2 separate regions of the Homo sapiens genome follow, and region 1 is linked to region 2. Evidence: promoter capture Hi-C in 16 types of primary human blood cells and fetal thymus (Javierre and others, 2016). All regions are on one chromosome and are shown on one strand. The core of a region is centred on a gene start or on the middle of the fragment in contact, and the rest is flanking DNA. Distances in the headings are between cores, read along the strand shown.

What was found. The method cuts DNA at HindIII sites, captures the fragments that hold promoters and counts their contacts. A CHiCAGO score of 5 or more calls a contact.
Region 1: a contact is called between a fragment that was not itself captured here and the fragment with the promoter of RAP1GAP2 in region 2, in 1 of 17 cell types (megakaryocytes). The highest score is 5.3, in megakaryocytes.

What each region holds. Positions count from the first base shown.
Region 1 is chr17:2,931,626-2,937,046 of GRCh38, reverse strand. All of the region lies in intron 3 of RAP1GAP2 (RAP1 GTPase activating protein 2), which reads right to left. Among named protein-coding and RNA genes, the nearest start is that of RAP1GAP2-AS1, 32 kb to the left of the region's middle. RefSeq lists enhancers at 4,044-4,789, 4,790-5,421. The HindIII fragment of the contact is 547 bases long and covers 3,582-4,128 here.
Region 2 is chr17:2,794,432-2,799,593 of GRCh38, reverse strand. RAP1GAP2 (RAP1 GTPase activating protein 2) reads right to left here and starts at 3,156. Exons shown (of 25, transcript NM_015085.5): 1 at 3,023-3,156. The coding sequence starts at 3,066. The HindIII fragment of the contact is 10,845 bases long and covers 2,307-5,162 here.

The DNA of each region.
Region 1 (5,421 bases), core at 2,606-5,105, 140 kb before region 2:
TTAACTCTCAGCTTTAAAACTTCTCGTTTAATTAGCTGTTTCCCCCATTTCATCTGTAATCCCAGCACCTGGCACACAGATGCTCAGTAAACACTTGCTGAATGAATAACTGAAGAAAGGAACTGACTTCAGTCTGGTGACTATGACAATCATAGAAGCAAATAATTACAATCCGGAAAACGAAGAGCAAGGAGCATGGGTAAAGCCCACAGCTGCCTGGGCGCACAGAGGAGTGGGCAATGGCTCTCCTGCAAGGAAGGGGGTCCCGGGAGGACTTCCAGAGAGTTATTCCCTCTGTTTTGGAGATAAAGCCACAGAGGTAAAAAGGAAGTCAGGGCTGCGTCTAATGGTACACAGTAGAAGAGCAAGACTCAATATCAGAGCCCAGGACCCATTCCTACCACCTCCCATTTGACCCTCATGATCATCCATTTTGGGGCACCGGGGGAGGGTAACTAAAGCTCAGAGAGGTTAACTGGCCTGCTGAAGGTCACACAGCCTGTTACTAGCAAAGCCAGGTGTTCTGAGTGAAAGAGGTTCGAGGCAGGGAGGAAGGAGAGGAAGAGGGAGGAAGAAGGTGAGTGCGTTTGTCTGTGTTAACCTCAGAGGGCACAAAGGAGAATCTGGCTGGCGGAGAAGGCCCACAGCCCCTGGCAGGGTCATGAGCAGAGACCAGTGTGACCACACTCTGACATCCTCTCCATGGCCAGGGGAGGCAACCAAGCAAAGAAGGAGGCATGAAGGCCAGCGAGACAAATAGTACTTAAGAGGCAAAACTGGGTGGGGGGAGGGGGGAGGGATAGCATTAGGAGACATACCTAATGCTAAATGACGAGTTAATGGGTGCAGCACACCAACATGGCACGTGTATACATATGTAACAAACCTGCACGTTGTGCACATGTACCCTAAAACTTAAAGTATAATAATAAAAAAAAAAAAAGAGGCAAAACTGGCCACCGGCCACTGGAGGTGGAGACAGGGAGAGGAGATGGCGGTCTGCGCACATCTCCCCACCGTCAAATTAGCCTCCTGAGCCTCTAAATGAGACCTCTCTTCTCTCGAAACCAGAAACCCCACTATTAAGGATGCCCAGCAGTGATCATTCATTTATAAAATACCCCGGCTGGAGCAAACCCGCCAGATCGGCCGCGTTTCCTTCCTTGCTTGTGGTTTTTCTCCAGCAGCTGCAATCCGGTGAAGAGAGCATGGGACTGAGCGTCAGACAGACCAGCCTCCGAATCCCAGCCCGGTCACCGGCCAGCTGTGAGGCCTCGCGCCTCACTTGCCTCCTTTGTGACACTGGAGTAATGATCCCCATCCTCCGGCACTTCCGAAGATCAAATGAGGCCACAAATGTGAACGTGCTTGACATTGCAACAGTGATCGAACGACAAATGTCTGCCGGCTCTACGTGTACTGGATTTATAGAATTAATTTCAGGATGGGGGCGGGGGGGTGACATTTATTGATCTCTCACTCTATCTGTCAGACCCTTGACTAAAGATGTGGGACGTTCTCTTTTGTGTGTGTGTGTGTGTGACAGAGTTTCACTCTTATTGCCCAGGCTGGAGTGCAATGGCACAATCTCAGCTCACTGCAACCTCCGCCTACCAGGTTCAAGCAATTATCCTGCCTCAGCCTCCCAAGTAGCTGCGATTACAGGCACCCGCCACCACACCCAGCTTATTTTTTGTATTTAGTAGAGATGGGGTTTCACCATGTTGGTCAGTCTGGTCTTGAGCTCCTGATCTCAGGTGATCCACCTGCTGCGGCCTCCCAGAGTGCTGGGATTACAGGTGTGAGCCACTGCGCCTGGCCTGAATATGTTCTTTTATCTGATCCTCACGCCTACCTGTGAGGCAAGCACTATCATCACATCCACTCTGTCACTGAGAAAACTGAGGCTGAGAGTTAAACATCTAGAACGACAGGCAATGCAAACCCATAGTCAGCCTCCAGGGGCCAAGTTTTGAGCCTTCACTCTAACAGGGCTTGGGTGTATTGTCTAAATCAGCTGGTTGATGCAGATGGTACAGGATGCTGAGAGGCCAAATCCCACCCGTCTTCCCTAAAGCTTTTCTGAAGCCCCTCAGCTGGAATTCCCACGGCACTCGAGTTGGTTTTGGTAGGCGTCATATTCTGTTTCACACGAATAGCTAAGACTGATCTTTCCTCTAAACTGCACACCTTGCAGGCAGAGGCCATATTTACACACACCACAGTTGTGCACGCACCAGATTTCGTCAAACTAAAAGGACATCCACTGGAAGGTACACATTATTTTGTTCTCCGCTAAGAAAGCAAAAATGCTTCCAATTACAAATTACGGTGTGCTATTGCTCATGAGATGCACCCTGATTTCAGAGTTGTTAAATGAGAGGGAAGAAAGTGTCTTCGAAGCAATGAAATACAGTAGTAGACACTCAGTAATTATTTGTACTCAGTAATTATTTCTTGGGGTAACAGAAAGAACAGTGGATTTGAAATCTCAAGACTCAGGTTTGTGTCTTACCAGCTGGCTAAAAGGAGTATTTCATTTTCTTCTCTGCGCAATGGGGAAATCATTCTTCTTTTCTGCAAGAACCAGAAGAGTTCAAGAAAGTGCTTTGCAAGGCCGGGTGCGGTGGCTCACGCCTGTAATCCCAGCACTTTGGGAGGCCAAGGTAGGCAGATCACCTGAGGTCAGGAGTTCAAGACCAGCCTGGTCAACATGGTGAAACCCCCTCTCTACCAAAAATACAAAAATTAGCCTAGCATGGTGGCCCATGCCTATAGTCCCAGCTACTCAGGAGGCTGAGTCAGGACAATCACTTGAACCCAGGAGGCAGAGGTTGCAGTGAGCCGAGATCGTGCCATTGCACTCCAGCCTGGGCAACGGAACAAGACTCTGTCTCAAAAAAAAAAGTGCTTTGTAAACAGTCAAGTACTGAACCAACCTAAAGTACAAACAGGATAAAGATGAGGCATGGATGACGGACGCCATCCGTGGCTGTGACCAAAGACGGGTGACCCTGTGGGTATTTGCAAGAGGCTCTGTAAGGGCGTGGCTGCCTTGGGGCAATCGGCCCCATTTTTCCAAGAAACAACTGGGGCTCCTGCTTCCGAGCTGCCCACGCTGGTTAAGGCGTAAGGTTCCTACGCCACAGACTCTCCAAGGCAGGCTTTGCAGCGTCAGCTGGCCGAGCTCCTGGTCCTGATCCGGTCTTCAACCTGAAACTTCCAGTCTTCCCCCAAAGTGGGGCTCAGCTTCAGGTCTAAGCCTCTTAGTGGGGGAACTGGAAAAAAGCAGCTCTGGAAATCTCATCAGGTTATTCAAGACTAACCTTGCCAGGTCCGTAACAGGGTCAACTAGAGGGTTAGGCATTCTAGGAGAGGGAACAGCCCAGGCAAAGGCTTAGAGGCAGGAAAGTGAGCAGGGGGCTGGTTTGGCCTCGGTCTACCCAGCAGCCACAGCTGTGGTCCCATCTTCTCCACCGTGTCTCTCTCTAAAGAATGGGAATAAAGAGCCCCCCAGGCTGACAGAGTGGGAGAAAAGGGAGGTGTTGGCCTCCCGGAAAATCTCTGCTTCGCTCCAAGCTTCCTTGTCCCTGGAAAATGCAAAGCCCCATGGGCTCCGCAGCTTGTACCCTCTCCTAACTGGCCCTGGAAGGCAGGTGTCTGGCTGTGTCAGAGGCACGGCTGGCCCCCTCCCTCACTCCACGGTGGTCTCTGCCCCCCAGGCAAGGTTCTTCTCTACACCAGGCACTTTACTGGCCCTGGCGGGCAGGTGTCTGGCTGTGTCAAGAGGCACAGCTGGCCCCCTCCCTCACTCCACAGTGGTCTCTGCTCCCCAACAATGTTCCTCTCTACACCAGGCGCTTTCCAACTTGCTCACCCGCCCACACGACTCCATTTCCTTCCACTCGCCCTTCTCTCTTCCCGCCCTCTCCTGCCCACTGTCTGGCTGGCTGGCTCATGGAGGAGGGAAACCGCAGCCATGCTGCCCTGTACGCGGGGACACTGGGCCTCCTCCCCTCTGCCAAGCAAGTGTTGAGAACCAGGCACTCCAGATCCCAGTGCCATTCCCCTCCTCCCGCAATCCCAGCCTCGACCTGTGCCTGGAGGAGGAAAGGGGCTGAAGAAGCTTCTGGGTTTGCCCATCCAGAGGGAACACATCACAGACCAGACATGGAACCCATACCCTGCCCGTGGTCCCTGCTCTTTTTTTTTTTTTTTTTTTCTTTTTTTGAGATGGAGTCTTGCTCTGCTGCCAGGCTGGAGTGCAGTGGTGCAATCTTGGCTCACTGCAACCTCTGCCTCCCCCGGGTTCAAGTGATTCTCGTGCCTCAGCCTCCTGAGTAGCTGGGATTACAGGCGCCCGCCACCACTCCTGGCTAATTTTTGTATTTTTAGTAGAGACGGGGTTTCACCATGTTGGTCAGGCTGGTCTCGAGCTCCTCTTTTTTTTTTTTTTTTTTTTGAGATGGAGTCTCACTCTGTCACCCAGGCTGGAGTGCAGTGGCGCGATATAATAAATAATAAATAAAAAGGATGGAACCTCACAGAATTTCCAAAGCAAGAGGCATCATATGCCAAGACACACACCACATACCGAACACCCTTCCTCCCTCTCCTCTCCCTGAGCTCCGGGTCCCACACTTGTTATGGGATATGCAGTTGGCCAGTCTCCCTCCTCCTCCACTGGGGCTGCAGTTGTCCCCCAGAGAGACCATGAGGTGCCCCGTCACCACTAACAGCCTTAACTGCTCCAGAACTTGGCCGCTCCCACACGCTCCTGCCTAGAGACCCCCAGCCAGGCACCCTCTGCTTCAGCGCGAAGGAGGAAAACACAGCGTCCCATCCCCCATGACCACATCAGCACTGCTGGGAAGCAGCAAAAGCAGATTTACAGATGAGCTAAACCAGAATTTCAATTATCTGGGCTCTTCCTGTTAACATCCTCCTCCACCTGGGACAACGGATTACTGGGACTTTGCTGGAGCCGTCCCTGGCCTAGTGCAGAGCAGGTGTTGATCAAATGCGCCGGACTGAGAACTGAATATATCATTATATATCTTTGTGCTGCTGGGTAAAGGGCGGTGTCAGCGAAGGAGTCATGAGAAGCTGGAAATTTTGGGGGGCTTGTGCTTCTGATGTGCCTGAGAGATGCCATCTCCATAACCCCAACTCAGCCCCAGCATCCCCTAACCTGCCCTTCCCCTCACCAGAGGGAAGAGGAAGGCTGAGCAAGGCGCCAGCCTCCTCACTTGCTGGGAGTTTCATTTCAGGCTGACCTGCAAGAAGAGGGGACATCTGCAAATTGCATGTTCTGTTCCTTTCCCATCTTCCAGTTAATGATTACTTAAATAAGTGCTTCGGTCCCGAGTGATTCTAACAGTCAGTCAGTCCCCAAGCTCCCACAGCCTAATTATACATGAA
Region 2 (5,162 bases), core at 1,907-4,406:
CTTCACTAAAACTGCCACTGGCTCCAGCATGCTGGAGACCCTGGAGGCTCTTTCCGGCACCCTTCTCTGGCCAGCCCAGCGCTGCCTCAGGCTTCCCACAGTCACAGCTCCAGGGAAGAGGAGAGGACACGGAGCTGAGCCAGCCCACAAGTCACCCTGAGGCCTGGAGCTAGGGGACGGGGTCCTTTCACTCTGAGTAAACTCCCAGCACCTTCTGATCTCAGTTACAACAGCAAAGCAAGCGGCACCCCGAGGGGCCTGGCCCACGTCTCTCCCAGTTTCTTCCTCACACGTCCTCTTGAGTCCCTTCCTTAGGGCTTCCACTACTGGTCCCTGAGGGTCTCACCCTGGAATCCCCACCCGCTCTGGGGTGCAGACCCTCCTCTTCCCCCATTCAACGCACAGACACCCAGATCCGAGCAGGACTCAGAGCCCCACACTCTGCTGTAACGCGTGCAACCCAGAGCTGCCGGATGGCAGCCCCTCACAGCAGGCGCTTAGGTTTTACATTTTCTCAAGGAATCTCCTAATTCTTACAACAGCCCTGTGTTGTGGGTAAGGCAGAAATCCCCCACTGACACAAGGGGAAACTGAGACCCAGAGAGAGGAAGTGTCCCATTAGAGTTCCTCAATGGTCAAGGTGGAGTCGGCGCTGGAACCGCTGGAACCGGGGCTCCTGGTGCGTGCACCTCTGACCGCTGTCGGGTCAGCCCCGCCCACCGCACCACCTACAGGCACCGTGGTCACAGCAGCCCTGGTTCAAACCACGCCTACACAGCAGCCAGCCCACCAGAGTTCCCACATCAGGGTGTGGCCTCAGGAGGGCAGGGCTCTGGTTTTGGAGAGGCTGAGATGGGAGATGGAGAGGACTGTGAGGCTGGGCCTTTCCCTTTCAGGAAGCCAAGGCTCCTGGGCACTCCTCCCTCTCCCATCCCATCCCACCCACCCTCATCACCTTGTCTGCCCCTGGTGCCAGAGGTTATCCACCCTGCATCCAATGGAGCTTGGAAAACACCAGCCCCAGAGATTCTGTTCACTGTCTGGAGGGACCAGGGCTCCAGGAATCCGTGACACCCCCTCCCAGCTGACAGCCATCCCAGATGAGGAGGCCCAAACCCCAGTCTCGCCCCCTTTCTTGCTGCCTTAACCTTCCAAGCCCAGAAGGCCCCGCCATCCCGTCAACCTCAAGGGGCCCCAAGCAGACACCTGCTGTGTGCAAAAGACCTCGATGAGTCCACAAGCATCGACTGAGCCTGTGTGACATGCCAGGCTTCCAGGTGAACGCGACGGGGCAGGGCCTGCCCTCCTGGAACCCACAGCCTAGTGGACACTGAGCCAGCACACAAGGGCGTCTGGGACATCCTAGGGCTCTTCCTCCACCTTCGGCTCACCCTAGACCTCCTGAATCTGAATGTGCATTTCATTAAGGAAGCCCCAGTGAGAAGGGCTGCTAGAGAAGAACTTGGAATTCTGCTTTCTATCTTGGCAGCCCTGGGCAGCCACACTCCTGTCTTCCCCCTCACCTGCCCAGATTCAAATCTCAGGCCTGGCTTTGCCTTGTGCTCTGGAGCTGTGGGTCTCAACACAGAGGGCTTCATATGGAATGAAGCTAGGCTGAGACCGGGACCTGTGCACCCGGAGCTTTCTGGCGACCAGCCTTCCATCTGCTCCACACCTCCCAGAGAAAGGCGGGCCTTGGAGGGCACAATCTAATTGCTGGGCCCTGCCCTGCAAGGCCCACAGCCAAGACACACACACCCCTCCCAACCAGAAGCCAAGTCCTCTGCTGCCTCCCGGACACTGGCACCTACCCTCGGGGTGGCAGCTCCCAGATCCAGGCGTCAGGGAGGGCCCGAGAGCAGACACAGGCGACGCTGTGCCATCTTCTCATCCGCACCATCCCATCTGCCAAACATGGAGTGCCCACAGTCCCCCCCTGCCAGAGGATGGATGGCAAAGTGCTTTTGAAGAGGAGGAAGAGGGAAATAAGCCACACACACGGAAGCGAAAAATTACCGAGGAACACAGCCCCTCTCCCCCTCGCCCTTCGTGCCACCCCCATTAGTCCACCATTTTCCACACCGGGACACCCCCCGGCCACCTCCCGCGGGGCCCTCTCCCAGTCTGACAACGCCCCCAGCCCAGGCACTGAAAGGAAACCGATCATGAAAACCACCAGACTCTGTTCCCCAGCTGCGAAGAAGCTGCCAGCACTGGGAACCAGAGACAAGCCTTTGGCCTTCGTGTGCCTACCTTCTGCCCCCCGCCGGGAAGAAAAAGCACATCCCTCATCCCAGACAGAAGCTTAGAGGCAAGAGTGTCCAGAGGGCCAGGCAGGAGGCTGGGGACAGATGCAGCTGCTCAGGCTAGGACAGAGCTAGGGTGGGCTGCCTGGGGTGCAGGTGGGAGACCTTCTCTCACAACCCACCCCCAAGACAGCAGGCAGCCCAGAGGTCCAGCAGGTACAGACTCCCCTGCCACAAGGCCACAACAACAGCACAGACAGGAGCATCACACACACAAACACGCAGACACAAGCACACACAGACACAGAAGGCCAGAAGTGCAGACAGGCAGCTGCCCACATGCACAGGCACACACCTCACACACGGTCACACGGACTGGCAGTCACAGCCACACACACACGCCTGCACACACAGGCTCAAACGCGCACACACACACTTACACATAATCCCAGACACGCACACACATACATGGGAACCTGCGGACACAGAGACACACACATTCAACTGCAGTCACACTCATGCTATCCACCTCCCCACGGGCAGCCGGCGCAGACCTCCAGGATTCGCCAGCAGATTGTGCCCAGGGACAGTGGGGAAGGCTTACGGTCTCTGATGTCCCCACCAGGATCCTGCATCTCGACCTGCCAGGGCGTCAGCAGACCCAGCTCTCAGGCACAGCCCGAGCCCCTCTGTTCCCACGGCCGCCAATGCACTTAACAAGACTTCACTTCTAAGTTCTCTCCCATCATTCCCCCACCCTCCCACCTGTCACCCACCATCCGAAGCCCCCAAAGGAGACACTGCGCTTCCGGCCAAACATGGTTGTGGCTGCAGAGCCCGGGGTCCCAGCGATGTCCCAACGACGTCCCCGGGGCTGTCCGCAAGAGGGCCGTGGTACAGCGGGGTCAGTGCCGGTGCAGGGCGGGGAGCCCAGCGTGGCACCTCCCTCTTCGCCTGCCCCCAACCCGAGCTTCCTGTGGGTGAGGCTGCAGAGCTGGGAGGTGTGTCCTGCACTCCAGGAGGCACCAAGATAGGCCGAGGAGGTTGTGGAGGGCAGCTTCCCCACACCCAGAGGAACCCACAGCTCCGGAAGGGGCTCGGCTGGCAGATTGCTCCACAGCCCCAGTTAGCAGCCCGGCCCACACAGCCCCAGCTTCCTGGAACCCAAAGGCGCCCCAAGGATTCCCACAGCCACGCCTAGGAGGGACAGAAAGATTCAGCTGGAAGCCTCAGGGACGCCTGAGCACTGGGGACCTTCACACCCACTCCCGAGGGCTGCCTGAGACAGGGACCTTTGCCTGCCTGCCCCACCATGGCTCGGCACACGCCAGAGGAACCAGCCACACACATGTCATTCCACTAGCACACGTGGATGTAAGTATACATGCACACGCATGGGCACAGGGGCACGTGGGATGCACACATGGACACACACACGCCCAGGATACCCAGGTACACACAGATACATGCACGCAGACATACGTATCATTAGACACCTGTACACACCTGAGCACAGCGCGGCACACACGCTCCCGTGCACATCCACACACCACTTCACACAGGCATCAGTAGACACACCTGCACACGCTTCTCACATACTGACAAAGCCCCATTGGACACGTGCACAGACATGAACGCATACACATGTGCCCGCAGGCACTCATCCACATACTCAGACCACATCACACTGCAAGGGGCATTCGCATGTACACACACATGGGCACAGAGCTGTACCTGTCAGCCGCCCCCCACCCCCGCCGCCAAGTGTCTAGACAGAGGTCAGAGCAGTGGCATGCTTCACGCTGGCTGTGTGGGGTGGGGGGGCGGTACCCATGTGCGGGTGGATTTGTCTTCCCAGCTGAACCGCAGGGTTCGTCCTCATCTCTGCATGCTCAGGTGCTGGTCCTCATGCCACAGGGCTAGCGTGTCCTGCACGCATCCCAGTCTGCACACCACAGGGCCAGTGCTCATCTCTGCACGCACTGGTGCTGACCACACCTGGTACACAGCAGGCACTTACTAATGGCAGCCCCTCAAAGGGATGTGGCACGTACACTACAACAGACACTGGGGGGAGTGGGCACAGATAGGGCCCCAGGCCCCACCCTACCCCCAAGCAGTGGAGAAAGGGAAGAAAACGTCTCAAAAAAAAAAAAAGAAGAAGAAGAAAGGCCGGGTGTGGCGGCTCACACCTGTAATCCCAGCACTTTGGGAGGCCAACGCGGGTGGATCACCTGAGGTCAGGAGTTCGAGACCAGCCTGGCCAACATGGTGAAACCCCATCTCTACTAAAAATACAAAAATGAGCCAGGCATGATGGCAGGTACCTATAATCCCAGCTACTCTGGAGGCTGAGGCAGGAGAATCGTTTGAACCTGGGAGGCAGAGGTTGCAGTGAGCCAAGATCATGCTGTTGTACTCCAGCCTGTGCAACAAAGAGCAAAACTCCATCTCAAAAAAAAAAAAAAAAAAAAAAAGGAAAAAAACGGCCCTAGCTGGTGCCATTGGCCTCTCTCTCTGGCCAACCCTCCCTGAAATTTCCTCTCTGGCACCTGCTGCCACTGTGAAGGTCCTAGACTCCGTGCTGAGGTGCCAGGGGCCAACCCCAGCTTGTGGACGAAGGGTACAAGGATTTCTATTTTCTTGACTCCTTCACAGCAGGGGACAGCACAGGGGCCTCAAGCCCTGAGTGGGCTGGGGGAGCAGCTTCAGGGTCCTGGGCCAGAGCAGGGCTGGGGGCTGACTCTCTACCTCCAAGGCAGCTAGTCCCCAGCAGGAGCCCGGAGGCTTCCCCCAACCCTCACCTCTGCCCCAGGAAAGTTAGGATTGTGTGGTTCATGCTCTGGGGTGGCTTCAGGCTGCTGGCTTCCCACAGGATGGCCACTGCAGAGTGCCACAAGCGCCTCTCTCCCCAGA